4 separate regions of the Homo sapiens genome follow, and regions 1, 3 and 4 are each linked to region 2. Evidence: promoter capture Hi-C in 16 types of primary human blood cells and fetal thymus (Javierre and others, 2016). All regions are on one chromosome and are shown on one strand. The core of a region is centred on a gene start or on the middle of the fragment in contact, and the rest is flanking DNA. Distances in the headings are between cores, read along the strand shown. Region 1 overlaps CKAP5 (cytoskeleton associated protein 5). Region 2 holds the start of FNBP4 (formin binding protein 4). Region 3 overlaps CKAP5 (cytoskeleton associated protein 5). Region 4 overlaps CKAP5 (cytoskeleton associated protein 5).

Region 1 (7,012 bases), core at 3,940-6,439, 960 kb before region 2:
AGGTTTCTTCTCTTTGAATTTCTCCAAGATGGTTGGCACAACCTGTAAAAGTGAATGGCTAGCACATTATTCAGCAACAAAGAGGAATGATATATTGATATATCCTAGAACATGGCTGAACCTTAAAAATAGTATGCTAAGTTAAAAAAAAAGCCAGTCACAGGCTGGGCACAGTGACTCATGCCTGTAATCCCAGCACTTTGGGAGGCTGAGGCAGGTGGGTTGCTTGAGGCAAGGAGTTCAAGACCAGCCTGGGCAACAGAGTGAGATCTTGTCTCTACTAAAACAAACAAAAAAAAATTAGCCAGGTGTGGTGGTATGTGCCTATGATCCCAGCTACTTGGGAGGCTGAGGTGGGAGGATTACTTGAACCCAGGAGGTCAAAGCTGCAGTGAGCTACGACTGCATCACTGTATTGTAGCCTGGGCAACACAGCAAGACCCTGTCTTCCAAAAAAAAAAAAAAAGCAGTCACAAAGACCATGTATTGTATGACTCCATTTACATGAAATGTTAAATCCAGAGACAAAAAAGTAGATTAGTGGTTGCTAGAGTCAAGGGCAGGGAGCAGCATGGGGAGAGACTGTTAATGGGCAAGGGGTTTCTTTTTGGGGTGATGAAGATGTTCTGGAATTAGATAGTGCTGATGGTTATGTAACATTGTGAATATTCTAAAATCACTTTAAGAGGGTAAATTTTATAGTATGCAAGTTTTATCTCAATAAAACTTACTTTCTAAAAAACCACCTTGTCTCCACCAAAACAAACCAATAAAGCAAACATTTAAGTGGAATAAAAAGTCATTTCCTTTCATGAAGGACATCGTATCTTATGCCGGAACAATGAAGAATTCTCATTCTCTCCCACTATGGCAGTGCTTCTCAACCTATTTGCCGCCTCTGCTCTGTCACCCACGTGGGAGTGCAGTGGGATGAACATGGCTCACTGAAGCCTCGGCCTCCTGGGCTCAAGTAATCCTCTCATCTCAGCCTCCCGAGTAGGTAGGCCTCAGGTATATGTCACCACACCTGCTATTTTTTTTTTTAATTCTTAATTTCTTGACCATTTCCCTGTAAATATAATTTTTTATTTTATTTTTTGTCGAGACGGGGGTTTCTCCATGTTGCCCAGGCTGGGGAAGAAAATTTCTAAGGTCCAAAGGACACAGCAAAGCTCAATGGCATCCAAAAACAAGAAATAATTGTTTTCAAGATTTCACAGAAGTGGTTATAGACTACTTGGTATAGTTCAAGGACTATGGTTCCCATGGAAAAATACAAGACTTTTTAATACTAGTTATAAACTTGAAAATCAAGATATTTTAATGTCTATAAAGCTAACATTCACTTTTATAAATATTGCCAAAAAGTTTGTAAACATTTAAAGAAAATAAAGCCAAGTCAGTAACATGCTTGATACTAAACACCGCATATATTACAGTATTAAGGTGGGGGAGACCCCAAACTACAGAGCAATAGAGACATTCTTTAACCAGGACAACAAACTGAAACAAAGCCAGAATCAGAACTCAAACTGGAAAGCCAGTTAATTATCCAACCATAATTTGGTAAATTAAAATGAATTTTAGGCCGGGTGTGGTGGCTCAAGCCTGTAATCCCAGCACTTTGGGAGGCTGAGGCAGGCAGATAGCTTGAGCTCAGGATTTCGAGACCAGCCTGGGCAAGGTGGCAAAACCCCATCTCTACCAAAAATACAAAAAGTACTCAAGCATGGTGTGGGGTGTGCCTGAAGTCCCAGCTACTCAGGAGACTGAGGTGGGAGGATCACCTGCGCCTAGGAGGTTAAGGCTGCAGTGAACTGAGATGGTGCCACTGCACTCCAGCCTGGGTGACAAAGTGAGACCCTGTCTCAAAAAAAAAAAACTAAAATTATTCTCTGAACTGATATTTAAGTGGTGTAGGAAAAAATTGTTTTTTATCTTGAAAAATTATTCCCAATATAAAAGTGTAAAATATCCTAAGTAATATAAAATTGATCAAAATGGCATATACACATCGATATTATATAATATTGATTGCTATAAAAATAGATTTTAATTTTATTTCAATTTATGATGTATATGTCTAAGGGTTTTACAGACCCTTATTTTTATTTCCCTAGTAATAAGCCAGTCATGATTTATTTTTATTTGGTAGTGTCTTCTTTTTCTTCAGTTAAGTTCTCTGAGATTATTTTTAATGCTATGAGTAAGCAAGCTCCAAATACCATAGCTCATGTGAGGCTAGGTATTAGCTTCACAATATAAAATGGACACATGACTAGGGACTATTAGGAAACTCCTAAGTCAGTCTAGGGAATCAAATGATGAAGGGGCTAGCAAGCTAAACTCTAAAGATCAATAAGGTCAATTTTTAGGATGCTGAGCCATTCTTAGTAATGCAGACCGGATTTAGAGGCCAAAGGACAGATGCCACAGTTAAAGAAAACATCTTAATTAAAATTATTACCAAATTTGATTGGAAACAAACTTATACAAATAGTAAGTCAACAAATGTCTCCAGTCAGATTTTCTTTGAATAAGTAAAACGGAGATAACCTATATAAAATATATAACATTGTAACCTATATAAAATGTCTCAAATATGTAAGTAAATTATATATTAAAATAGGAAAACAATGTAAAACACATTTTATATATTAACCTCACAGTTTTACATTTATAGTTTTACATTGCCTTTCCGACTCTCATTTTCATTCTGGTCCTGGTCGTTACAAGTTTTGTTTCATCTTGTTATGATGTGTATAATGTTGTAAGAACAAAGCAAGATACTAGTAAGTAAATAAGTAATAAGCAAATAAATAAACTCAACTAAGTACTTTAGGCCTAGTGCCTGACTTTCTACATAAGGCCTATAAATTTTGTTACAACTGACATCTACTGAAATTTCTAAGATATATCTATGCTGAATATTAACAAAACAGAGAGAAATTTACTTTGTACAGTATATACACATCTATGCCAAGGAGTTGTTTTAAAGCAAACAGCAAACTAGGCCTACCATTTTTGATAAATTTTGTTGATCTGTATCTAAAAAGGAGTGTTACTTACATGTCCTGCATATTGTCCAAATTTCTTCCTTAGCCCAACAGCCAGGCCAGTAAGACATTTTGCTGCCAAAGCCACCAACATGACATTGGTGTCCTTTCCAACAACCTACAAAGGGGGGTAAAAAGGAAAACAAAATAGTCACAGCCATGTAGAAGGGTATTGAAATTTTATTCTCAAAAGAACTCTGAGGCCGGGTGCAGCGGCTCACACCTGTAATCCCAGCACTTTGGGAGGCCAAGGTGGGTGGACCACCTGAGGTCAGGAGTTTGAGATCAGCCTGACCAACATGGTGAGACCCTGTCTCTACTAAAAATACAAAAATTAAGCAGGCATGGTGGCAGGCACCTGTAATCCCAGCTATTTGGAAGGCTGAGGCAGGAGAATCACTTGAACCTGGGAGGCGGAGGCTGCAGTGAGCCGAGATTGCACCATTGCACTCCAGCCTGGGCAACGCAGCAAGACTCCATCTCAAAAAAAAAAAAGAACTCTGAAAGCTCTTATGCTAATATATGACCAATTTTATTTACTACAACAGAGGAGAAATTCTTCTTTCATTGTATCGAATTTGGGAGCTTCCCTTCATTATGTTTAGTCTTCTATCTTAAAGTTCTACTAATAAAACATAGATAAAACCACAACATCAAATTGCTCACTATCCAGTAGTGGCAGTCTGGGCTGTCAGCACTGTTCAACTGTGCAGGAAATGACCCTGATAATGGCAGAGAGACGAGAGGTCTGCTGACTTTGCTTTGGGACAAGGAAAATGAAAAGGCAATGTATCTCTGAAAGACATCACAGGGCAACAGCTCTAATATTCATAACCAAGAAGCACCAGTACAAACGGCTGCAGGTACCTTCAGGAAGTCCATGGGGACTCTAAATTGTGAATGCTACTGCATTCTTCTGAGAACCATTCTTCTGAGGGAGCTTCTGGCCTTGAGGCTGCCACTTCAGTCATCTAATAATGGTTAAGCTTCAATTCAGAGTCTCAGTCGATTCTCCTCTAGCACTGCTTATATTACTGCCCTCCTATGCCACAACCCACAAAGCCCAGCACTTATCTAAACTCACGGGTAGTAGCTGCATCTGTGTCAATTTAACAAGATACTGACTACGACTGGGTTCCTTCCTGGTAAGATTTTACTGTGGTACACTGCCCAATCAGTTGGTGTTAAAAAGCTGCTTTATTATATAATAATACAGGCAGTGTGACGTGTGCCTGTAGTCCCAGCTACTTGGGAGGCTGAGGCAAAAGGATCACTTGAATCTGGGAGGCAGAGGTTGCAGTGAGTGCAGATCGCACCACTGCACTCCAGCCTGGGTACCAGAGCAAGACAGACAGACAGACAGACAGACAGACACACACACACACACACACACACACACACGGCTGCTTTATTTATAAATGCACACACACACACGGCTGCTTTATTTTTAAATGCCCCCAACTCTTCTTTTTTCACTCTTTTCCCAGTAAGAGTAATGCCTCCAGTCTACTTTGAATTTTATCTAGTCCCTACAATGTGGTGTTCCATAAGCAGAATGCTTTATTCTAGATTCTCTGCATTAAACAACTCCTAACATGCAACATGAAAGAAGTTCTACTTGGCACTTATATGCACTCCTTAAGTGCTGAGGAATAAGGATAAAGAAACTAACATTTATTGAAAAAACAAATTAGGCACCAAAATTTTGTAGGCACTTTATAATCCTTTTTAAGTTTAATTTTCACCCAAACCCTATGAGGTAAGGACTATTATTATTTCAACTTTGCAGATTCACAGCCAGGCATGGTGGTTCACGCTTGTAACCTCAGGACCTTAAGAGGTTGAGGTGGGAGGATCGCTTGAGCCCAGGAGTTCAAGACCAACCTGGGCAACATAGCGAAACCCTGTCTCTACCAAAAATAGAAAAATTAGCCAGGCATGGTGGCATGCGCCTGTAGTCCCAGGTACTCAGGAGGCTGAGGTAGGAGAATCTCTTGAACCTGGGAGGCGGAGGTTGCAGTGAGCCAAGATCATACCACTGCACTCCAGCTTGGGTGACAGAGCGAGACACTATCTCAGAAACAAAAAAACAACAAAAAAGTGCAGACTTCAAAAAGATTTTTTTTTTGAGACAGAGTCTGGCTTGATCTCAGCTCACCGCAACCTCCCCCTCCCAGGTTCAAGCGATCTTCCCACCTCAGCCTCCCGACTGGCTGGGACTAAAGGCACATGCTACCACACCTGCTAATGTTTCTATTTTTTGTAGAAACAGAGTTTCTTCATGTTGCCCAGTCTGGTCTTAAACTACTGGGCTCAAGCAATCAGCCCGCCTCGGCCTCCCAAAGTGTTGGGATTACAGATGTGACCTACTGTACCCAGCCAGATTCTAAAAATTAAATAAAGATTAATGTGCTTACAGTCAGGTAGTTAGCAAATGGTAATGCTGTGTGATTCAAACCCAGGTCAATTCTGACTCCAAAGTTTTTGCTCCTTTTATTAAGTAAAGCATGTTCTCCCTCTCAACTTGTGTTAAGTTCACTTTTCCTTACGAGAGGATGAGATCAGGGTCCTAATAAACATTTTGTTAAATCTCTAATTACTGTAAGTCTATGAAGAAAAAAATTTTCCATTCATTTCTGTATTGAAATCACTATTGGTATTTATAAATGTTCTGATTATTTTTCCTTATCAAAATACCTCTCAGATATGATTTAGATGCTAGGCTTTATATTTAGCATCTAAATATATATTCTAGGAATGGACATCAAAAACATGTAAGATCCCATTCCAACAAATTCTAGTTCAATGAATCTGGGATGAAATTTGGACATCAGTATTTTTAAATGGCTCAAAGGGTGATTTTGTCATATGGGCTCAGTTAAAAAACTATCATTCTATTCCTTTCTTAGGAGAATACCTCTCCCTATCCATTGTTGGAACAGTAACCAGTGGGAGCTAGACTCTAGACACTCATGATCTTATTGTATAGTATTGAAGAAGATACTGCGAATCTGTTAAATTTCAAGATTGCAAAGGCTCAAATAAACTTATAAGTGAGCAATGGACCAGATACCCTAATATAATACCTGCCTGTCACACTCATTGACACTCATTGTTTATTCCCATAAACAAGTTATTCTCAACAGGGAAATGAGAGTAGGGAAGATGGAGAAGTGTTTATTTTTAAGAAAAGTAACATATGAGGGGGGACTCCATTTCAGAGGTAAGAAAAACAATGACTTCTGTCTTTTCAGTAATTTCTGTTCTAGACCAGGGAATGGAAGCTTTAGCTCATAATCTCAATATAATTTAAACAATAGGAAATCTTGTACAGTTTTAAGTGCTGTCACTTTTCTCATAAATTGAGGCCTACAGTATTAAAACAAAGTGCTTTAAAGTAATTATCAATTGGTATTTATCTTTAACTAGAAATTAAAGCCACTAGTTAATAATAACTAAAGCACACCGTTGACAGAGGAAAGGAAACAAATTAATGAAACCCATTATGAATTACTGTGTTTAGAAAACTATGATGAAAACAAGCAATAATTAAGGGGGGAAAAGTAGAAAGAACAAGTGAAAAAAGATTAATACCACATAGAAGTCTAAAGATTATATAAGAAAGCACTTCGAAAATCCAAATCTTAATGTAAAGATAAATAAATTATATATATATAAAAAATCAAATGTCCATAGGCATAGGCACATGACAAAATCAAAGAAGCGATGAGCTGGGAGGGAGGCATCTTATAAATAAAAGAACTATAGGCCAGGCGCAGTGGCTCACGCCTGTAATCCCAGCACTTTCAGAGGCTGAGGCAGGCAAATCACTTGAGGACAGGAGTTCAAGACCAACATGATGAAACCCTGTCTCTACTAAAAATTAAAAAAAAAAAAAATTAGCCGGGCATGGTGGCACGCGCCTGTAATCCCAGCTACTCAGGCGGCTGAGGCAG
Region 2 (6,363 bases), core at 1,309-3,808:
TTAGTAATTGCGCCAAAGTCTAAGTGTGAATGCCAGAGTGATGAATTGAACCCAGGTTTGTCTACAAAACCACTGTTGCAACTATGGCATTCCTTTGTACTTGAAAATATTTAATAAGATCAATTTCCAGGTCCACCAATGTTTGTTAGGTAACCAATCAAGCCAGAGTGTTAGAAAAGGAATAGGAGTTGGCATGCCTAATGAACACCAAGCTAGTGGGAGGACCAGAAAACTAGTTATAAAATAGCATCAGGAAAAAAAAACAGTAAAAAACGTTTTGGGTAAAGAAAAACAACAAATTTTGCACTGGTCAAAGTGTATATACATCAACATTCTCTCACAAACAAAAATAATCTTAAATCATATTTTTGGGAGAAATAATGTTAGCAACACTAAAGCATTCAGCAAAACATTCTATGTACAAACCCAACTTGACTTTAATGAAAGACGTGGGAGAAAAAATGTAAAAAACAAAACAAAAGCATACCTGTTGCTTTAACAGCTGTGGGTCTAGTGGTCATGACTGGTTTTGGAGGATTCTGAACAACTCTAGGAACCTCCTGCACCGCTTCCTGTTCATCTGGATTAAAAAAAAAGAAAAGAAAAGAAAAGAAAAGAAAAGAAAAGAAAAGAAAACTGCAGTCAGATTCCAGACCAGAGAAAACACTAGAGGTGACAAACCAACCTTTGATTTAACATTTCAGCTCTAGATTCCATCAATTTTTTAAAAAGTGCATTTCGGATGGGTTCGCACCTGTAATCCCAGCACTTTGGGAGGCCAAGACGGGGGGGGGGGGGGGCCACTTGAGGTCAGGGGTTCAAGACCAGCCTGGCCACCATGGTGAAACTCCATCTCTACTAAAAATACAAAAAATAAAAAAATTGCTAGGCATGATGGCACTCGCTTGTAATCCCAACTACTCGGGAGGCTGAGGCAGAAGGATCGCTTGAACCCAGGAGGCAGAGGTTACTGCAGCCTGGGCCACAGAGGAAGACTCCATCTCAAAAAAAAGAAAGGACATTTCATTGACCCAAATAATTGGGAGATAATAAACACAGAGCTGGAATCTTTTTTTTTTTTTTTTTTTGAGACGGAGTTTCGCTCTTGTCGCCCAGGCTGGTCAAACTCCTGACCTCGAGTAATCCGCCTACCTCGGCCTCCCAAAGTGCTGGGATTACAGGCATGAGTCACCGTGCCCTGGAGTCTTTCATCTGCTTACAAACTTCAACATCAAGGGAAGACTCTTACCATGGTAAATAAAAATTATTAATACATCTGCATGGCCGGGCGCGATGGCTCTCGCCTGTAATGATCGCTTGAGCCCTGGAGTTCGAGACCAGCCCGGGAAACATGAACTCCGTCTCTACTGAAAATACAAAAATTAGCCGGGCATGGTGGCAGGGTCCTGTAGTCCCAGCTACCCAGGAGGCTAAGGCGGGAGGATCGCTTGAACCCGGGAGGTGGAGGTTGCAGTGAGCCCAAGATCGCGCCACTGCACTCCAGCCTGGGCGACAGATTGAGACATTGTCTCGAAAAAAACAAAACAAAACTCTTAAAAAGTTACATCTGCAATACTTACAAATACATACAAAAACAGTAAGTATTCTCCAGGCTATGATAGGACCTTTACAAGACACACCAAACACTGCTATTGCGGATTTTTTCCAATTAACGAACCAGCGTGATCTCTGAACATGTGAAACGGTCGCGGCTTCTCCGGCGCCTAGTCCTGGAGTCACTTTTAATCTAAGCACCACTCCAGTGAGAACCACACAAATACTTAGGAACCTACCAGCTCCATTTCTCCAGCAGTTCTGCTAGTGTGGGGATGCTTACTAGCTGGAATATTAAGAGCTTTTTCTAAACGTCTCTATCCCCGTTTCGACAAAACCGAAAGGAGGCAGATGACGTGTGGAAAGGCCTGGCCCACAGTCACAGGCCGCGCACGCGGAAACTCATCCTCACATCCACCCTCTGCGTTACCCAAAACCGACCCGGGGCGTTTGGGAGACTCAGGATGCCCGAACTTCGGTCATATTTCAAACGTTCCCGGGGCAAGCCCTGCACCACAGATGGCGCCTCGGGCTTGGCCCGGGCCGAGGGCGCAGAACTCGGCCTGGCCCTTCTGCGGCCCGGAGCCCAGGGCCGCCCCGCCTGCAGGCCCGCAGCAGGCAGGCCTCGGAAGCCGACCTCGCCCGCCTCCCTCGCCGGGTCTGGCCAGGCGCCGTGAGGAGCCTAGGCCGCAAGCCCTGAGCTCGAGTTCAGGTCCCCCCGCGCACCCTTGCCTTCTGAAGGCGAGTCGTCCGAGGCCGCGGCGGCAGTCACCGCGGTGGTGGTGGTCGTCGCCGCCGACGGGGCGGGCTGGCTGGGGACCGCCGCGGTTGAGTCCGGCTCAGTGTCGGGTTCCGGCTCCGGGTCCCGGCCCGGCGTGCTGCCCCGAGGACCCGGCGGAGAGAGTTGCAGGATGGGCCTACGGCCGGGTACCGCCCGGGACTTCTTCCCCATCGCGAGCCCAAGCGCGAGCAGAGAGCGTCGGGCGGCCGAGAGGGGCGGGCACTGGAGGCTGGGCGCTGGGCCCTGGGCGCTGCGACGCGTAATCAATATTCATACACCGTGACACCGCCTCCAGCCCGGATCCGCTTTCAACCAGCGGAGCACGCGCTTGCGCAAGCGCCTCGGACCCTTCGGCTCTTCTGGCTCCTCCTCACCAGGAGAAAGGGCGGGATTACCAACTGCGCTAGGCGATTGGCTGTTTTGACCCAGAGAAGGGACCGGTGGCCAATGGAAAAGGAAAAAGGGTGAGAGTCCAGCCAATAGTGCGGTAGGGCCTGAATTAGAACGACTTCCCCACTTCCGTCGGGTTCCACCCATGCGCTTTCCCCAAGCCTTTTCTTTGCCTACTTGTCCTCCATCTTGTGGCTATTCTCGGCCTAGAGTTTCATGTTGTCTGTCTTCTAGAAAGGTGTGCTGCTGGGCCCAGCTCACTCACGCCTGTAATCTCAACACTTTGGGAGGCCGAGGCGGGTGGATCACGAGGTCAGGAGTTCAAGACCAGCTTGTCCAAGATGGTGAAACCCCGTCTCTACTAAAAATACAAAAGATTTAGTCGGGCGCGGTGGCAGGCGCCTGTAATCCTAGCTAGTCGGGAGACTGAGGCAGGCGAATCGCATGAACCCGGCGGCAAAGGTTACAGTGAGCCGAGATCGCGCCACTGCACCCCACCCTGGGTGACAGAGTGAGACTGTCTCAAGAAAAAAAAGAAAGGTGTGCTGTTTTCTGAGCCCTTCCCCACGTTTCGCCCGGATTATTGTGGCTTACTTTGGGTATAGCATTGAACATTAAATGGGACAGTGGGTCTTTTACGCTTTTGTAATTTCCTGCAGCACACAAATAGATGTCTCATATTTTCTCGCTTATTAGCTGGGAAAAATCACGAGATACTCCACTACCTACAAGGAAAAAGCCTAAAATTGTTGGGATGGCATACAGGAACCTTACCAGTTTTGTACTACTATCGTCAACATGCTTTAATTTACCCTTGCTTTAACACTGCCCCCTCTCCCGTCTCCTGCCTCTGGAGCCCGCCACTTGGAGCATCACCTCCCTCACTTTTCCTTTGCACTGACTGGAATAATTACTGCATCACATGATGAAAGTCTTTTATTGTTTCATCAGGGCGCAATGCAGACGCAGTGCAGGCGTGACCTCTCCTGCCCAGCCTCTCCCTGGCACTTGACATCCTGTTGACATCCGTCTCCCCTCTAAACTAAGGAATGCGAGTGGTATTTATTTTTATATCCGCAGCAGCTCAGTTCCCACTAAAAATATCTAATACTTACTGAGCTCTATGTGTCAGTCACCAAGCACTTTACACGTAGAATTGCATTTGATCTTTTAAAATGATTATTTCTAATTTTATTTTTAAACGTGTCTTGCTCTGTCATCCAGGTTGGAGTAACGTGGCATGATTATAGCCCACTGCATCCTCAAACTCCTGGGCTAAAGCCATTTTTTTTTTGAGACGGTGTCTCGCTCTGTTGCCCAGGCTGGAGTGCAATGGCGCAATCTCGACTCACTGCAGCCTCTGCCCTCCGGGTCCAAGCAACTCTCCTGCCTCAGCCTCCCCAGTAGCTGAGATAATAGGCGCCCACCACCACGCCTGGCTAATTTTTGTATTTTTAGTTGAGACAGGGTTTTGCCATGTTGGTCAGGCTGGTCTTGAACTCCTGACCTCAGGTGATCCACCCGCCTCGGCCTCCCAAAGTGCTGGGATTACAGGTGTGAGCCAGCGTGCCTGGCCTAATTTTTTAATTTTAATTTTAATTAATTTATTTTTGAGAGAGCTTCTCTCTGTCGCCAGGCTGGAGTGCGGTGGCACGATCTTGGCTCACTGCAATCTCTGCCTTCCAGGTTCAAGCGATTCCCCTGCCTCAGCCTCCTGAGTAGCTGGTACTACAGGCGCGCAGCACCTTGCCTGTCTAATTTTTTGTATCTTAGTAGAGATGTGGTTTCACCATATTGGCCAGGCTGGTCTAGATCTCCTGACCTCATGATCTGTCTGCCTTGGCCTCCCAAAGTGCTGAGATTACAGATTTTTTTTTGTATACAGAGTCGCCCAGGTTGGAAGGCAGTGGTGCGATTTTGGCTTAAGGGAGGAGACCACCCCTCATATTGTCTTATGCCCAGTTTCTGCCTCCAAAGAAAGAAAAAGTAAAAACTAAAAGGCAGAAATGAAATCCACAGGCAGACAGCCCGGCACCACACCCTGGGCCTGGTAGTTAAAGATTGACCCCTGACCTAATCGGTTATGTTATCTATAGATTAAAGACATCGTATAGAAAAGCACTGTGAAAATCCCTATCCTGTTTTGTTCCGATCTAATTACCGGTGCATGCAGCCCCCAGTCACTTACCTCCTGCTTGCTCAGTCGATCACGAACCCTCTCATGCGCACCACCTTAGAGCTGTGAGCCCTTAAAAGGGACAGGAATTGCTCACTCGGGCAGCTCGGCTCTTGAGACAGGAGTCTTGCCGATGCCTCTGGCTGAATAAACCCCTTCCTTCTTTAACTCGGTGTCTGAGGAGTTTTGTCTGCGGCTCGTCCTGCTACAGGCTCACTGCAACCTCCACCTCGTGGGTTCAAGCAATTCTCCCATCTCAGCCTCTGGAGTAGCTGGGACTACAGGCGCATGCCATCACCCCCACTAATTTTTGTATTTTTAGTAGAGACGTTTCACCATGTTGGCCAGGCTGGTCTTGAACTCCTGACCTCAAGTGATCTGCCTGCCTTAGCCTCCCAAAGTGTAGGGATTACAGACGTGAGCCACGGTGCCTGGCCTAATTTTTTTTTTTTTTTTAGAGGGAGTTTTGCTCTTGTCACCCAGGCTGGAGTGCAATGGCATGATCTCAGCTCACTGCAACTTCCGCCTCCTGGGTTCAAGCGATTCTCCTCCCTCAGCCTCCCGAGTAGCTGGAATTACAGGCACCCGCCACCACCCCCTACTAATTTTTTGCATTTTTAGTAGACGGGGTTTCGCCATGTTGGCCAGGCTGGTCTCAAACTCCTGACCTCAGGTGATCCACCCGCCTTGGCTTCCAAGAGTGCTAGGATTACAGGCCTGAGCCACCGTGCCTGGCCCGAAGAATTTGCTGGGTTTTTTTGTTTGTTTGTTATTATGTTTTGAGACGGAGTCTCGCTCTGTCACCCAGGCTAGAGTGCAGTGGTGCAATCTTGGCTCACTGCAAGCTCTGCCTCCCGGGTTCACGCCATTCTCCTGCCTCAGCCTCCCCAGTAGCTGGGACTACAGGCACCAACCACCACGCCCCGCTAATTTTTTTGTATTTTTAGTAGAGACGGGGTTTCACCGTGTTGGCCAGGATGGTCTCGATCTCCTGATCTCGTGATCCACCTGCCTTGGTCTCCCAAAGTGCTGCGATTACAGGCCTGAGCCACTGCGCCAGGCCAAGAATTTGCTGTTTTAAAGCTGTTAGCAGGCTGGGCGCAGTGGCTCATGCCTGTAATGCCAGCACTTTGGGAGGCCGACGTGGGCGGATCACAAGGTCAGGAGATCGAGATCATCCTGGCCAACACGGTGAAACCCCGTCTCTACTAAAAAAAATACAAAAAATTAGCCGGGCACGGTGGCGGGCGCCTGTAGTCCCAGCTACTGGGGAGGCTGAGGCAGGAGAATGGCGTGAACCCGGGAGGCAGAGTTTGCAGTGAACCAAGATCGCACCACTGCACTCCAGCCTGGGCAGTAGAGCGAGACTCCGTCTCAAAAAAAAAAAAGCTGTTAGCAATTTTCTAATTTATTTAATGAGGAAAGACAGTAAAATAAGGAGTTTTGTATAGGAACTTTGAGG
Region 3 (6,822 bases), core at 754-3,253, 980 kb before region 2:
CAAGATATTAACAGGCATGTTGCAAAATGTAGCATGGCACAGAGAAAGGTAACATAGTATAGCAGCTACATCATTCTTTCTCCAAACCAGAATGCCTGGATTAAAATCTTGGTTTTGCCACTTTCCTAACTATGATGGGCCCAAATTACTTAAACTTTCTGTGCCTTAGTCCTCATCTATAAGATAGGGATAATATAATACCTCGCTTAGTTGTTATGATGATTAAATCAAATGAATTATGATTTAGAAAGTGCTTTTTAAAAGTACCTGGGATAAAGTAAACTGTATAAAGTTTTGTTTTAAATAAACAACCGTGCTCTATAAGCAAATAAGTTTGGGAACAGTGGGTTAAACAAAGTTAAACAAGCTCTTCTATTGCAGGATTTCTGACAGCAGTTAATTCGCCAAGGCATACTATAGGTCTTTAAACAAATGTAATTATATACAGAAATTTCCTAATGTATTTGACTAGAAATTCTTGGAACTGGATTTTCTGTGGGACAGCTATTAATGCTTAAGGAAAAATAACGTAGAGAACTCTTTCAGTGAACATCAAAAAGCAGGAACACAAGCCAATATAGACCTTTGAGAACAAAGGTAATTTTCTTTTATATAAATGAGACAATCCAGCTCTCACTCTTCAGAAATAAACAGCAATAGCTATTATTATAAACAGCACGACTTAGAGACTGACAGAACATTTAACTATTTTCCACTTGATTTCGTTCTGACTTACCCAGAAAAACCAAATTCTTTTATGGCATTTGATAGCCAATTCAGAGTTTCTGACTGATTTTTGGGATTCTTTTGTGAGAAAGCCATTGACACAACCTGAAAAGGGAAAAACAGCAGATCTGTGTTTTATCTCGTATTTCTTATAGAAATACAGCATGACATTAAGGCAGATGTGCATTAAACTAGTTTTCTGACGCTAAAACAACTGCAAGAATGCCTTAGGAACAAGAGTGAACCTACACAAGAAAATGAGGTGAAATGATAGTAGGACTAAAGGCATTCTGGACTATTTATAGCTTTGCAGCAATTACTCTGCATTATAATGTTTTTTTTTTTTTTTTAGAGACAGGGTCTTGCTCTGTCACCCAGGAGTACAGTGGCACAATCATCAATCATTGCAGCCTCAAGCTCGTGGGCTTTCACCTTCTATAGAATTTTTTGTTTATTTGTTTTGAGACAGTCTCACTCTGTTGCCCAGGCTGGAGTACAGTGGCGTGATCTCGGCTCACTGCCACGTCTGTCTCCCAGGTTCAAGTGATTCTCCTGCCTCAGCCTCCCTAGTAGCTGGCATTACAGGTGTGCACCACCACGCCTGGCTAATTTTTGTATTTTTGGTAGAGACGGGATTTCACCATGTTGGCCAGGCTGCTCTCAAACTCCTGGCCTCAAGTCATCCTCCTGCCTCGGCCTCCCAAAGTGCTGGGATTGCAGGTGTGAGCCTCTGTGTCTGACCGAATATTTTTGACTAAGATGAATTTTCATCACTAGGCAATAGAGTATTTTTTAAGGTAAAAATAAAAATGCAGTATCAAAGGGCCGGGCATGGTGGCTCACACCTGTAATCCCAGCACTTTGGGAGGCCGAGGCAGGCAGATCACCTGAGGTCAGGAGTTCGAGACAAGCCTGGCCAACGTGGCGAAATCCTGTCTCTATTAAAATTCAAAAATTAGGCAGGCGTGGTGGCAGGTGCCTGTAATCCCAGCTATGCGGGAGGCTGAAGCAGGAGAATCACTTGAACCCGGGAGGGTTGCAGTGAGCCGAGATTGCACCATTGCATTCCAGCCTGGGCGACAGAGTGAAACTCCATCTCAAAAAAAATGCAGTATCAAAAAAGATTTTACTTGAGAAGATAAAAACTAATGTTTAATTAGTAAGCTTAAAGTTTGGGGGAAAAAATTGGGAAAACTAGAGGAATAAGACTTCTGTGTCACTAACCTGTTCAGCAGTCCATGGTAACATACAGGCTTCGGCTATTGCTGTCATAGCTTCTTTTGCATTGTTCCCACATTTCACATCTCCAATCTTGTCCACAAGGCCATCTAATACAACCTGAGCTGACGTTTTGGAAAAATTTCCCTTCTGGGCAATCAAAGCAACTATATGAAGCTTCATTTGCATCACCTGAACAAGGATCAGTATCATAAAGCTAAGAGCAAGCCAAGGACATTTATTTATTTACTTGTATTAACAGCATGTAACAGATATGACATGGTTAGGGACAGCTGGAAACACAACTAAAGTAAAATCAGGATTTTAAACAAATATGCAAAATAATTTGTATCCTTTAATTGTTACCAATTACTTAACTGACAGTGAAGAGAGGGAAAAAAAGCTACTCAGTGTTCCAAAATACTAACAAGTAATATTGCACAGAAAGTTTATTAATTGAAAAATCTGATTTTTAAATTTTCCTCCTCTTATGATTATTTGCATTTAGTACTGAATACACACCCTAAAATACACAATAAATTACTATACTGACTGCATAACTGAGAATTACTACTAGGGCTGCCTACAAAAACACTACAACCCTCTTATACACACATGCAACACAGAACTTCAGAGATTTTAGAGAACTTGTTGGCTTTTAAGTATAAGAATAAAAAGATCTGTGGAAAATAATTTAAAGATATTATTGTGATGGCAGACCTATGGGATTAAGGACCCCTTTGCTCATAAATATTTTTCTTTGTACTGTGTGAATATTTTAACTTTTTTTGTTACGCCACTAGAAATCCTATTATACAGATTAATTTAGGTGACAAATACTCCCATTTATTTATGTATTTATTTGACAGAATCTTGTTCTGTCACCCAGGCTGGAGTGCAGTGGTGAGATATCAGCTTACTGCAACCTCTGCCTCCTGGGTTCAAGCGATTCTCATGCCTCAGCCTCGCAAGTAGCTGGGATTACTTACAGGCGCCCGCCACCACGCTTGGCTCATTTTTGTATTTTTAGTAGAGATGAGGTTTCACCATGTTGGCCGGGCTGGTCTCGATCTCCTGACCTCAAGTGGATCTCAAGTGGGATCTCACCTCAGCCTCTCCAAGTGCTGGGATTACAGGCGTGAGCCACTGTGCCCAGCCACACAAACATCCTCTTTTAAAATGCAATTATCGCCTGGCTCATGCCTGTAATCCCAGCACTTTGGTAGGTTGAGTCGAGGGGAATGCTTGAGCCCAGGAGTTCAAGACCAGCCTGGTCAATATGGAGGGACCCCAGCTCTACAACAAGTACAAAAATTAGTTGGGTATGGTGGCCCTCGCCTGTAGTCCCAGCTACTTGGGAGGCTGAGGTGGGAGGATCACTTGAACCCAGGAGGCTGAAGCTGCAGAGAGACATGTTGACACCACTGCACTATCTAGCCTGGGCAAGAGAGTGAGACTTTGTCTCAAACCCCCAAAATTTGACATAGCAGGCATGTGAAAAAATAAAAATTTAAAAAATTAAAAAAAAAATTCCCAAACCAAAAAACAAACCAAAGAAATGTAATTATCTTGGGTGGGACTTCTGCAATTGTGGAGTCAATACCTCTGAAAAACTGATCTTCCTCAAAAGCAACAAAGAACACTGGCAAAAACTATCCAAATCAACTTATCTCACAACTCTGAAAATTAAATAAGGCTTGTAACATACAAGAACCATTTAAAGAAAGGATGCTGAATTTTAGTAAGGACAGTGAGGTTTCTGGTGATTTAACTTGCCTTGCTCCCCTTTTCTTCCAGCTCCACAGTAGCCTTCAAAACCTGAAGTCTTGTAACCATGGCAACTATGAAAACCTAGAGCTGTGCAGCCACTGGCAGGTGGGGGGACAGCTCAGGTTTGGACCTCCTCAAAAAGTTTTGACCCAAAGTACTGTCTTGTCTGGCAGCTTCCTAGAAAAGCTCCATTTGAAAGTCCTGTTATTTGACTGGACTCTGGCTAGCTCAGTGGGAAAAGCCCTATCCCCAGGGATTTTGTTGAAAACAACGAAAACAATGAGTGGCAACTGTTTAACATCTAACATCAGAACTGTGTAAGTCCATAATACCAGCTGGGGGAACCCAGCTTGGTCAAAAACATAAAAGGACCTAGGGAATAAGATATCCACAGAGGACTTTGAGAATCTAGAAGGTCATGCGAATATTCAAGGTTATGTGTATGCCCAGGAAAGACTGAAAAGGGCCCTAATCTCTGACTGACCTTCAAGACCTTGCTTAAAAAGTGAATTCCAGGGTAAAGCTGTAAAGTGCCTGAGTATCTCTGGCATGACCCAGCGCGCACACACACACAAACATACACACCTTCCCCCTTGGCAGAGGGTGGGAGACAGATCACATTGGTTCAAGGCATTTAAGAAAATCTCTCCAGTCATTAGCTGGTCATTAAGTTAACCAAGGAGAGAGTCTTTGGTGGCTGAAAATCAAAATCACAATGAGATTACACTTCATACTGTCTATGAATTTGAGAAAAAAATTAGCAAGGTGTAGTGATGCACGCCTGTGGTCCCGACTACTTGGGAGGCTGAAGTGGGAGGATCTCTGGAGCCTAAGGTGTCAACACTGCAGTGAGCCACGTTTGCACCACCACACTCCAGCCTGGACAACTGAGTGAAGCCCTTTCTCAAAAAAAAAGAAGGTGGTGTGAGAGGAAGAGGGCACCTCAAGAATCTTTTAGAATATTTAGCCTTTGTGGAGCTGGCCTATACGAATAAGGTGCTATGTAACACAATGTAAGGGACACACAGTGTATGAGGGAGCTAAACATCCTAGACAGAAAACAAGAGGTGGCAGCAGAAGAGAAACCAAAAAGAGACTAGCAGGATGCCAATAATAAACCTGATACATTTCAAGTTTGTTTAGCATGAGGTCTATTGTATGTACATCTAGAAAAAGAGAAGGAAACTTTTTCTCATTTTCCTTCCTGCAGCACTTTCCTATACTTCCCTCTATACCCACCCCTTAGACTAATAACTTGGTACTGCTAAATTTCAGCTCTATTATCAGTTAATGGGGCTATACAATTGATTATGTGGTAAATTTTCACTGGCAATTTAAGGACTGCACTTATTTTTTATCCTATCAAATAAAAAAGCTATCTCACTGTTTATTTCTCCCTTGAATATGTAAAGATTGGATAAGGAGGCTTCTAGGCCTAAAAATGAGAAGAAAAAAATGTATATATCTAAATTATACAAATTATATATGGATGTATACATATTTACATATTTATACACATATAAATTCCTAATTATATAAAGTTATACAGTTGACCCTTGAACAACATGGGTTTGAACTGCGAAGATCCACTTATGCATGAATTTTCTTCTGCCTCTGCCACTCCTGAAACAGCAAGACAAACCCCTTTTCTTACTCTTTCTCCTCCTTCAGCCTATTCAACATGAAGATGATGGGAATTGAAGACCTTTATGATGATCCACTGCCACTTAATAAATAGTAAATATGTTTTCTCTTCCTTAGGATTTTCTTAATCACATTTTCTCTCTAGCTTACTTTATTGTAAGAATACAATATACAATACATGTACCATTCAAAATATGTTAACTGACTATGTTATCAGTAGGGCTTCTGGCAACAGTAGGCTATTAGTAGTTAAGTTCTTGGGGAGTCCAGAGTTATATGTGAAGTTTCAACTGCACAAGGGGTAGTACCCCTAATCACCACATTGTTCAAGAGTCAACTGTAGTTATGTGTTCAATCAAAATGCACACACCCCATTGTTCATTAAAAATCATTACCAAGCTGGGCGCGGTGGCTCACGCCCGTAATCCCAGCATTTTGGGAGGCCAAGGCAGGCGGATCACCTGAGGTCAGGAGTTCGAGACCAGCCTGACCAACATAGAGAAACCGCGTCTCTACTAAAAATACAAAATTAGCCGGGCATGGTAGCGGGTGCCTGTAATCCCAGCTACTCGGGAGGCTGAGGCAGGAGAATTGCTTGAACCCAGGAGGTGGAGGTTGTGGTGAGCCAAGGTCGTGCCATTGCACTCCAGCCTGGGCAACAAGAGCGAAACTCCGTCTCAAAAAAAAAAAAATCATTACGAAAACTATTCTGCTGTATTACTCCATAGGATGATGTAATGTAAATTACTTCAATAAAAGACATCAAATCTCACATTTTAAAATACCTGAAAATTAGTTTCTTTCCATCCAGGTTTCTTGGCTAGCATCCTCACTAATGCCTGGCATGGCATTTCAGTTCGGTCCATTAGCTCAACAGCCTTGAAGTAAAATAAGAGAATAAGAGTTTAAGGGTTAAAGGTTACTTCCAAAGGAAGAGTAAATACCAAAGTCAAGTAAGTGGTTACCTCTGAAGAAAGGAGTGGAATAGAACTGAGGAGGGTTATTGAGGGAGCTTATATAGCTTCCGCTGTTATGCTTTATTTCTTTGTGTTTTTATGTCTATAATGCTTTATTTCTTAAGCTAGATGCTTGGTATATGGCTGTTAAATTAGTATCACTGAACGTTTATCTCACATTTCAGGAATTCACAAATAGTTTGCTCCATGCAAAATAATAGTTTTCATTTGCCTAGTGTGTGGCAGAAACTGCTTATATGTATTTTCTCTTCCTTGATTTTCCTAAAAACAGCAAAGCAGAATAGATTTGAAGTTCTAAAGTACCGAATATCAAAGATGCACAAACTCAGATCTAAACCCAATGGGCAGCAGACGCAGGACTAGACGGCTTCTGCCATAAGTGACAGTGCTCTTGCAGTGTTTCTCCTTACCGTTCCTCATTAGAATCACCCGGTATATGCCAAAATGAACTGCCATGCTCCTTTACAACACAGGTTTTTGAGAGGTT
Region 4 (6,954 bases), core at 2,625-5,124, 940 kb before region 2:
GACCCCATGACTAGAAATGAAAAAAGAGTTTAAGAAATTGGCAGTTTTCAAAAAAGATTAGCTAATAAACTTCTTACAAGTGTTTAGTGTTTATGATACTCTGCCATTCATAATAGGCCATTATAAATGAATCTCACATTGTATCTAAGAATTATTACTTCTTTATAATATTGTATTAAAGATGTGATAACTCAAACATGAGAAATCACCCTGATGAAACTGCCCCGTCTCCAAAGTATATGCTGTTTTTTGGTTCTATTTTTGTATAATCATTAGGTAGCTTTATATTACACTGTATATTAATTTCAGCTAGTAGATTCCGGACATTTTTACTGAGGTATTCTTTTTTCATTAATTTATTCAACAGGTGTTTAATAAATAAAAATCAATTCAGCTCTGGCCCTTGTGGAGCTTACACTCCAGCAGGAGGGGACATTAAGCTATAATACAAATAAATTTAAAATTAACAAAGCATTAAGTACTACAAAGGAGAAGCAACTTGGTGCTATGAAAGTATATATTATAAAAGGCTTTGTCTTAGTGTTAAGAAAAAATTTCCTGAGAAATGGTAATTGAGCTGAGCCCTGAAAGATAAATAGGAACTAATCAGGAAAGAGTGGCAAAAGGGGAGACAGAACATTCCAGAAGGAACAGTATACTCCAAGGCCCTATGGCAGCAGGGAATATGGTATTTCCCACTCCTATAAAGAAAGAGAAGGGGAGTATGGTACAAAGTAAGCTGGAGAGGATTGGAAAAGGCCAGATCATGCAGGACTATGAAGGCCAAAGAAAAGATTCCACTCATTATTCTAAGAGCAATGGGAAAGCAATGAAATGATTTGGGGGCAGTTAAATGAGAAGTTAGTTTGTGGGATGATCGAATTTGCATTTACTGTGTTAAGCATTAGTAAAGAATTAGATGTTTGTCCTCAACACTATTAGATCAAAGAGACAGAAGGATCAACATATGATTGAAAAACAGAAATAATTTACATGTTATTTGTTTAATGTAAGTAAAAATGTAATTGAAAATGTAATTGAATTGATTCAATTAATGTAATTGAAAATGTGATTTGGGGCAGGTGCTATGCTCACAGAAAAAACTCTTCCTTCTAAGGAAGGAATGCTGCCTAACCCACTATAAGATGCATTCATTAGGAAGAAGGCATTACCTATTCTGCAAAATTAGAGTGAAGTATAACATAAATTAACATCATAGTTGAACATTTACTAACCAATTTAAACCAGATTTATTTTTTTATTTTTTAAAATTGGGCAACATCTCATTCTATAAAGTAGAATGAGTGTTCCCTAAACAGATTTAACATCTCTATGCTTTAAGTTTCAAAAACACACAATAAATGCTCAAAAAATGGGAAAAATAAAGTACCAAATCACACGAGATTGAAAAACTCTTAGCACATATTAACCAATCAAAAATCGGAAAGTCTAAGATTTATCTATATTGTCTGCCCCTTTCAGTGAGAATATACAATATCTACCAAAAAAAGCATTATAGTTAACGATTCTAAATAAGTTCCAAAATTCTCCCCCAATTTTTGTTGCAATTTAATGTACTACATAACCAACAATTTCTATGCGAATTAGAATAAAAACCAACTAGCTCACTTTTAATCTGGCCTTATTTGAAGAGCTACATGTTGATTTTTGATACAGTATTCGGCCTTGGCTAATTTATTATATAGGATGAAGGAGTGGTTCTGTGGAGGATATAGGGACCATGGCTCCAAATTTCTACTCTACATAGGTAGAACTGTATGTATACAACTGTGTAAGTTAGTATATTTTATTCAGTATTTTTAGTAATCAACAACCATAAATCTTGAATACTCAGATTCAAAACAAACTTTAAAAGAACTGTCAAGAACATAAAGTGGTAAACCTGAGGACTTGGAGTAGAATAAATTTACAAGAAGAAATGAAATTCTAAAATCTACCAGATGGTAGATGTTTGTTTAAAATGATTAAAAATGAAAGAAACTAGAGGTATAGTTGGGGAAAAAATAAGATAATCTGAAAGGATGCCCACCAAATAATGACATGATGTAATAAATTGTATCTTACTAGCATAAACTAGAAAATAAAGATTGGTAGATTCTGAGGGTAAATATTGGAATGCCGATCATATAAATCAGAGAACCTAAAAAATGCTGGATTTCTAAGGCCAAATTCAGAACACATCTCAAAAGAAGAGTCTCTATATAATAAAATATTAGTAAGTACTTAGGTACCAGAAGTATATTGTACTGTATATACAAGGAGATGAAAAAACTAGCCAGTTACTTTTCATAGATACCACTTACTTTTCACTTCACTAATATCTTTTCTTTGAATTCTTTCCAGAGACAAAAAAATTTTTAGTTGAGCTACAGAAACCTATTTTCAATGAGAAAAAATAACATATCTAACAAGGCATCAGTATTTTTGAAACTGCCAATGTTTTCACACACTTCTAAGTAAGATGATAGTATAACTGCTCACAAAACAAGCCAACGACACTGAAAATCGAATTCCAGAAGAATCTTACCTTGTGTTCACATTTCTGATCAACTGGCAGTTTCAACCACTCACTGTCATCTCCCATTGTGCTTCCAGGTTTTCCTTAGAATTAAGAGTATTTCCTGGTCAGATAAAGGTAGAAACCTGCTTAGCAACCAGGCAGTCTCTTAAGACAAAAATAACTTTTCTGAGATTATTATTTTATCATTCATGCAACAACAAGAGTAAAAATCCCGTTCTTTCGTCAGATCCCCACTTAATTCAATTAACAGGACTTTTTTTTTTTTTTTTTTTTTGAGACGGAGTCTCGCTCTGTCACCCAGGCTGGAGTGCAGTGGCCCGATCTCCGCTTACTGCAAGCTACACCTCCTGGGCTGACGCCATTCTCCTGCCTCAGCCTCCCGAGTAGCCGGGACTACAGGCACCCGCCACCACGCCCGGCTAATTTTTTTGTATTTTTAGTAGAGACAGGGCTTCACCATGTTAGCCAGGACAGTCTCGATCCTGACCTCGTGATCCACCCGCCTCGGCCTCCCAAAGTGCTGGGATTACAGGCGTGAGCCACCGCGCCCGGCCAATAGAATTTTTTTTTTAAAGTCACTCAAAAGACAGGACACAGTGGTGGCTCATGCCTGTAATCTCAGCACTTTGGGAGGCTGAGGTGGGCAGATCACCTGAGATCAGGAGTTCAAGACCAGTCTGGTCAACATGGTGAAATCCCGTCTCAATTGAAAATACAAAAATTAGCTGGGTGTGGTGGTGCAGGCCTGTAGTCCCATCTACTCGGAAGTCTGAGACAGGAGAATCGCTTGAACCTGGGAGGAGGAGGTTGCAGTGAGCCAAGATTGTCCCACTGCATTCCAGCCTGGGCGACAGAGTAAGACTCCATCTCAAAAAAATAAAGTCACTCAAAAAATATAAATATAAATATATTGCAGTCTGGGCAACATGGTGGAACCCCATCTATACTAAAAACACAAAAATTAGCCAGGCGTAGTGGTGTGTGTGCCTGTAGTCCCAGCTACTCGGGAAGCTGAGGTGGGAGGACTACTTGAGCCCAAGAGACAGAAGTTGCAGTGAGCTGTGATCATGCCACTACACTCCAGCATGGGCAACAGAGCAAGACCCTGTCTCAAAAAAACCAAAAATTTGTTTTCTAAAAAATGATGCTTTTATTTTCCCAAATAAGAACTTCTTAGATATAAAACGAAGCTGGAATAAAACTGAATTGCTGAGCTAAATGGCCTTTTAAAAGGCCAAGAAAAAAGTTTTGGAAAAAGTCATACTTTCACCTAGAATTACTTATAGAAAATAATCAATATGGGGGTCGGGTGTGGTGGCTGACGCCCGTAATCCCAGCAGTCTGGGAGGCCGAGCCGGGCGGATCACGAGGTCAGGATCGAGACCATCCTGGCTAACACGGTGAAATCCCATCTCTATTAAAAACACAAAAAATTAGCCGGGCTTGGTGGCTGGCGCCTGCAGTCCCAGCCACTCTAGAGGCTGAGATAGGAGAATGGCGTGAACCCGAGAGGCGGAGCTTGCAGTGAGCCGAGATCGCACTGCACTCCAGCCTGGGCAACAGACTCCGTCCCAAAAAAAAAAAAAAAAAAAAAAAGAAAGAAAAGGAAAGAATCAATATGTAAAAATGTTGATACTGCCAAGCTCCCTAATTCTAGCAAACATGACTAGTCAATGTTTATATAAACAAGTACAAAATTAAATCCCTGAATGAACCTTTATACATATTCTTTATGTAAACCATGTTTTTAAGTGAGGTTTAAAGTCAACATCCTTTTAATAACTTTATGCTACCTATCTTCTTTTTTTTGAGACAGCGTCTTGCTCTGTCGTCCAGGCTGGAGTGGAATGAACACGATCTTGGCTCGCTGCAACCTCTGCCTCCTGGGCTCAAGCGATCCTTCCACCTCTGCCTCCTGAGTAGCTAGGATTTGGTGGGACTGCAGGTGTGCACCACCATGCTCGGCTAATTTTGAAATTTTTTGTAGAGACAAGGTCTCGTTATATTGCCCAGACTGGTCTCGAACTCCTGGGCTCAAGTGATCCCACTGATCGTGAGCCACCGCACCCACCCCTATGCTATCTATCTAGACAACACCTTTTTCTTATAAAAGTAATGTGTGTAAACTGCAGAAAATTTAGTAACTACAGAAAAAAATCTAAGTATTAAAATACAATTTTACCACCACCTAATAACCATGATGAACACTAAAGTACGTATCCAGTTTTTTTTCAATACACATGTAGTAATATAAATCATATGAAAAAGACAGGCATAATCCCCTTACAACATTTTTGTTATATGATCACAAACATTTTCCCAGATTTGAGAATATGATGTTTAAAGTCTACATAGCACTCCATTTTACAAATGTACCATAATTACCAACCCTACCATTGGACATTTAAATTGTTTCCAATTTTTCTTTTTCATTTTTGAGACAGGGTCTCACTCTGTCACCCAGGCTGGAGTGCAGTGGTGTGATCACAGCTCATTGCAACCTTGATGTCCTGGGCTCAAGTGATCCTCCCAACCTCCGCCTCCCGGGTTCAAGTGATTCTTCTGCCTTAGCCTCCCAAGGAGCTGGGACTACAGGCACATGTCACCATGCCCAACTAATTTTTTAGTTTTTTGTAGAGATGGGGTCTTACTATGTTGCCCAGGCTGGCCGATTTTTCAATATTATTAATAACATAGAAGCGGTCCTCCGTAATTCTCCATCCCTAGTTCTGGCCTGACATAAAATATGTTTTCAATAAATATTTGTTTATTGAATATATACTCTGGTAATATCTATTCTGAATCAGGCATGGTGCAAAGTACTTTTTAAACACGCTAATTCACTTTATACTGACATCAACTATGTGAAGGAAAGATATTCTCATTTTACACACTAGCTTCACAAATATTAAGTAACCTGCCAAAACAACAAAACTGGTAAGCAATGAAATTAAACTAAGATTCATAGTCTATGCTTCTTCCTTTACATTTTGTTCCCTCCCATGGCAAAGAAGAAAATGTCCCAGAGAAAGATGGAATTGTAAAAGTTTATTAGGATATGTGGAACTTTCATTAAGATTTTTCTTCAAAATCCCTAGGATTGCCATGAAACAGCAGCAGTGTAATTTAAAGGAGTCAGGAGAATCTGCAGGAACTCAAATACACCAATGATGGGAGACAGAATAGTTTAACAGTCTGGAAAACAGTATGGCATTATCAGATACACATGCCCTACCACCCAGCAACTCCATTCCTAGGTGTATAGCCTAGAAACTGATGCAAATTACACCAGAAGACCTATATAGGGATAGTCATAGCAATGTTGTTCATAGTAGTCAAAAGCTGGAAACAGTTCACATGTTCATCAAACTGTGCTTTTCAAACTCAGGACCAGTCTTCCCCCTACCACCCCCACCAACTGAATACTAGTATGTCTGTAAAATACAATAAAAATTATTATACCTCTGTATTTTTTAAGTTGAATGCCAAATGGTCCAGCTGCTGTGAATGCAAAATGGTCTAGCTGCTGTGTAAAACCATTTGGAAGTTTCTCAAAAAGTTAAAAGTATCATATAGGGATGAGCAGACTGATCTGGATTTTATAAACAGATATAAGAACCAAGTTTTTGCTACACAGTAGAGTTTGATGCCTAAAGAGCAAATAAAATTGCCAACAAAGAGAAGCATTAAGAAGATTAATTTGAACTATACATAATGCTTGCTGTGGTTTATTTGATCTAGTCCCTAGTAAAGACACATATTCAGAAATTTCAATTATTCAGAGCTCTCAGATTTTATCCCAGTCTAAAACTGAGGCAAAGACAAGTAGGTCAGCTAAAGTAAGTATGTTTTACAGATATATTATAATCATATACCACTGATCTAAAAATGTCTTCCTAAGAGCTCAAATACCATATAGTCCATGCTATTGCTGAAAAGGTTTAGGCATAATTGTTTATTTTTAGACTAGAGGTTAAGAAATGTTTTCAAGGTTATACATGAAGGCAGAACTTAGAATAAATTCCAAATTGTCTGATTTTTCAGTTTAGTGTTCAAATAAATAACAAATTTCCTATTAAATATGCACTATATCCCATCATAAAAGAGACCCCAAAATCTGTGCATTTTCTCATTAACCAACCATTTAAAAGGGACAGAGAGATTAAGTCATGAGTAATACTAGAGCTGGGCCTAGAACCTATGTCTCCTACTTCTCAGTCTGTCTCTCTTCCCTACAACCCATGGGCCCAAGTGTGGTGTCTTTTTAGTTTAAATTCCTGTATTTTGATAGTCTATAAGAGTAATTACAGAGCTACTGTACAGATTATTTTCTCTTCTACTTAGAGAAAAACCACTGGCAGTATGACTTTTTTATGGCAAATTCCCAAGCTCTTGACCTACAAAAGCTCTTC

What was found. The method cuts DNA at HindIII sites, captures the fragments that hold promoters and counts their contacts. A CHiCAGO score of 5 or more calls a contact.
Region 1: a fragment that was not itself captured here is called in contact with the fragment with the promoter of FNBP4 in region 2 in 4 of 17 cell types (fetal thymus, monocytes, M2 macrophages and 1 more); the score reaches 8.2 in fetal thymus.
Region 3: a fragment that was not itself captured here is called in contact with the fragment with the promoter of FNBP4 in region 2 in 5 of 17 cell types (erythroblasts, M2 macrophages, fetal thymus and 2 more); the score reaches 12.6 in erythroblasts.
Region 4: a contact is called between a fragment that was not itself captured here and the fragment with the promoter of FNBP4 in region 2, in 1 of 17 cell types (monocytes). The highest score is 5.0, in monocytes.

The regions. Positions count from the first base shown.
Region 1 is chr11:46,798,131-46,805,142 of GRCh38, forward strand. It overlaps CKAP5 (cytoskeleton associated protein 5), which reads right to left. Exons shown (of 44, transcript NM_001008938.4): 9 at 3,070-3,174; 10 at 1-42. Among named protein-coding and RNA genes, the nearest start is that of SNORD67, 39 kb to the left of the region's middle. The HindIII fragment of the contact is 2,298 bases long and covers 4,041-6,338 here.
Region 2 is chr11:47,764,783-47,771,145 of GRCh38, forward strand. It overlaps FNBP4 (formin binding protein 4), which reads right to left and starts at 2,559. Exons shown (of 17, transcript NM_015308.5): 1 at 2,287-2,559; 2 at 488-580. The coding sequence starts at 2,506. RefSeq lists enhancers at 924-1,849, 1,644-1,703, 1,850-2,774 and a silencer at 1,964-2,573. The HindIII fragment of the contact is 14,946 bases long and covers 1-6,363 here.
Region 3 is chr11:46,782,538-46,789,359 of GRCh38, forward strand. It overlaps CKAP5 (cytoskeleton associated protein 5), which reads right to left. Exons shown (of 44, transcript NM_001008938.4): 16 at 6,144-6,236; 17 at 1,951-2,136; 18 at 737-831. Among named protein-coding and RNA genes, the nearest start is that of SNORD67, 23 kb to the left of the region's middle. The HindIII fragment of the contact is 231 bases long and covers 1,889-2,119 here.
Region 4 is chr11:46,818,627-46,825,580 of GRCh38, forward strand. CKAP5 (cytoskeleton associated protein 5) reads right to left here. Exons shown (of 44, transcript NM_001008938.4): 2 at 2,549-2,642. The coding sequence starts at 2,605. Among named protein-coding and RNA genes, the nearest start is that of CKAP5, 24 kb to the right of the region's middle. The HindIII fragment of the contact is 8,913 bases long and covers 1-6,954 here.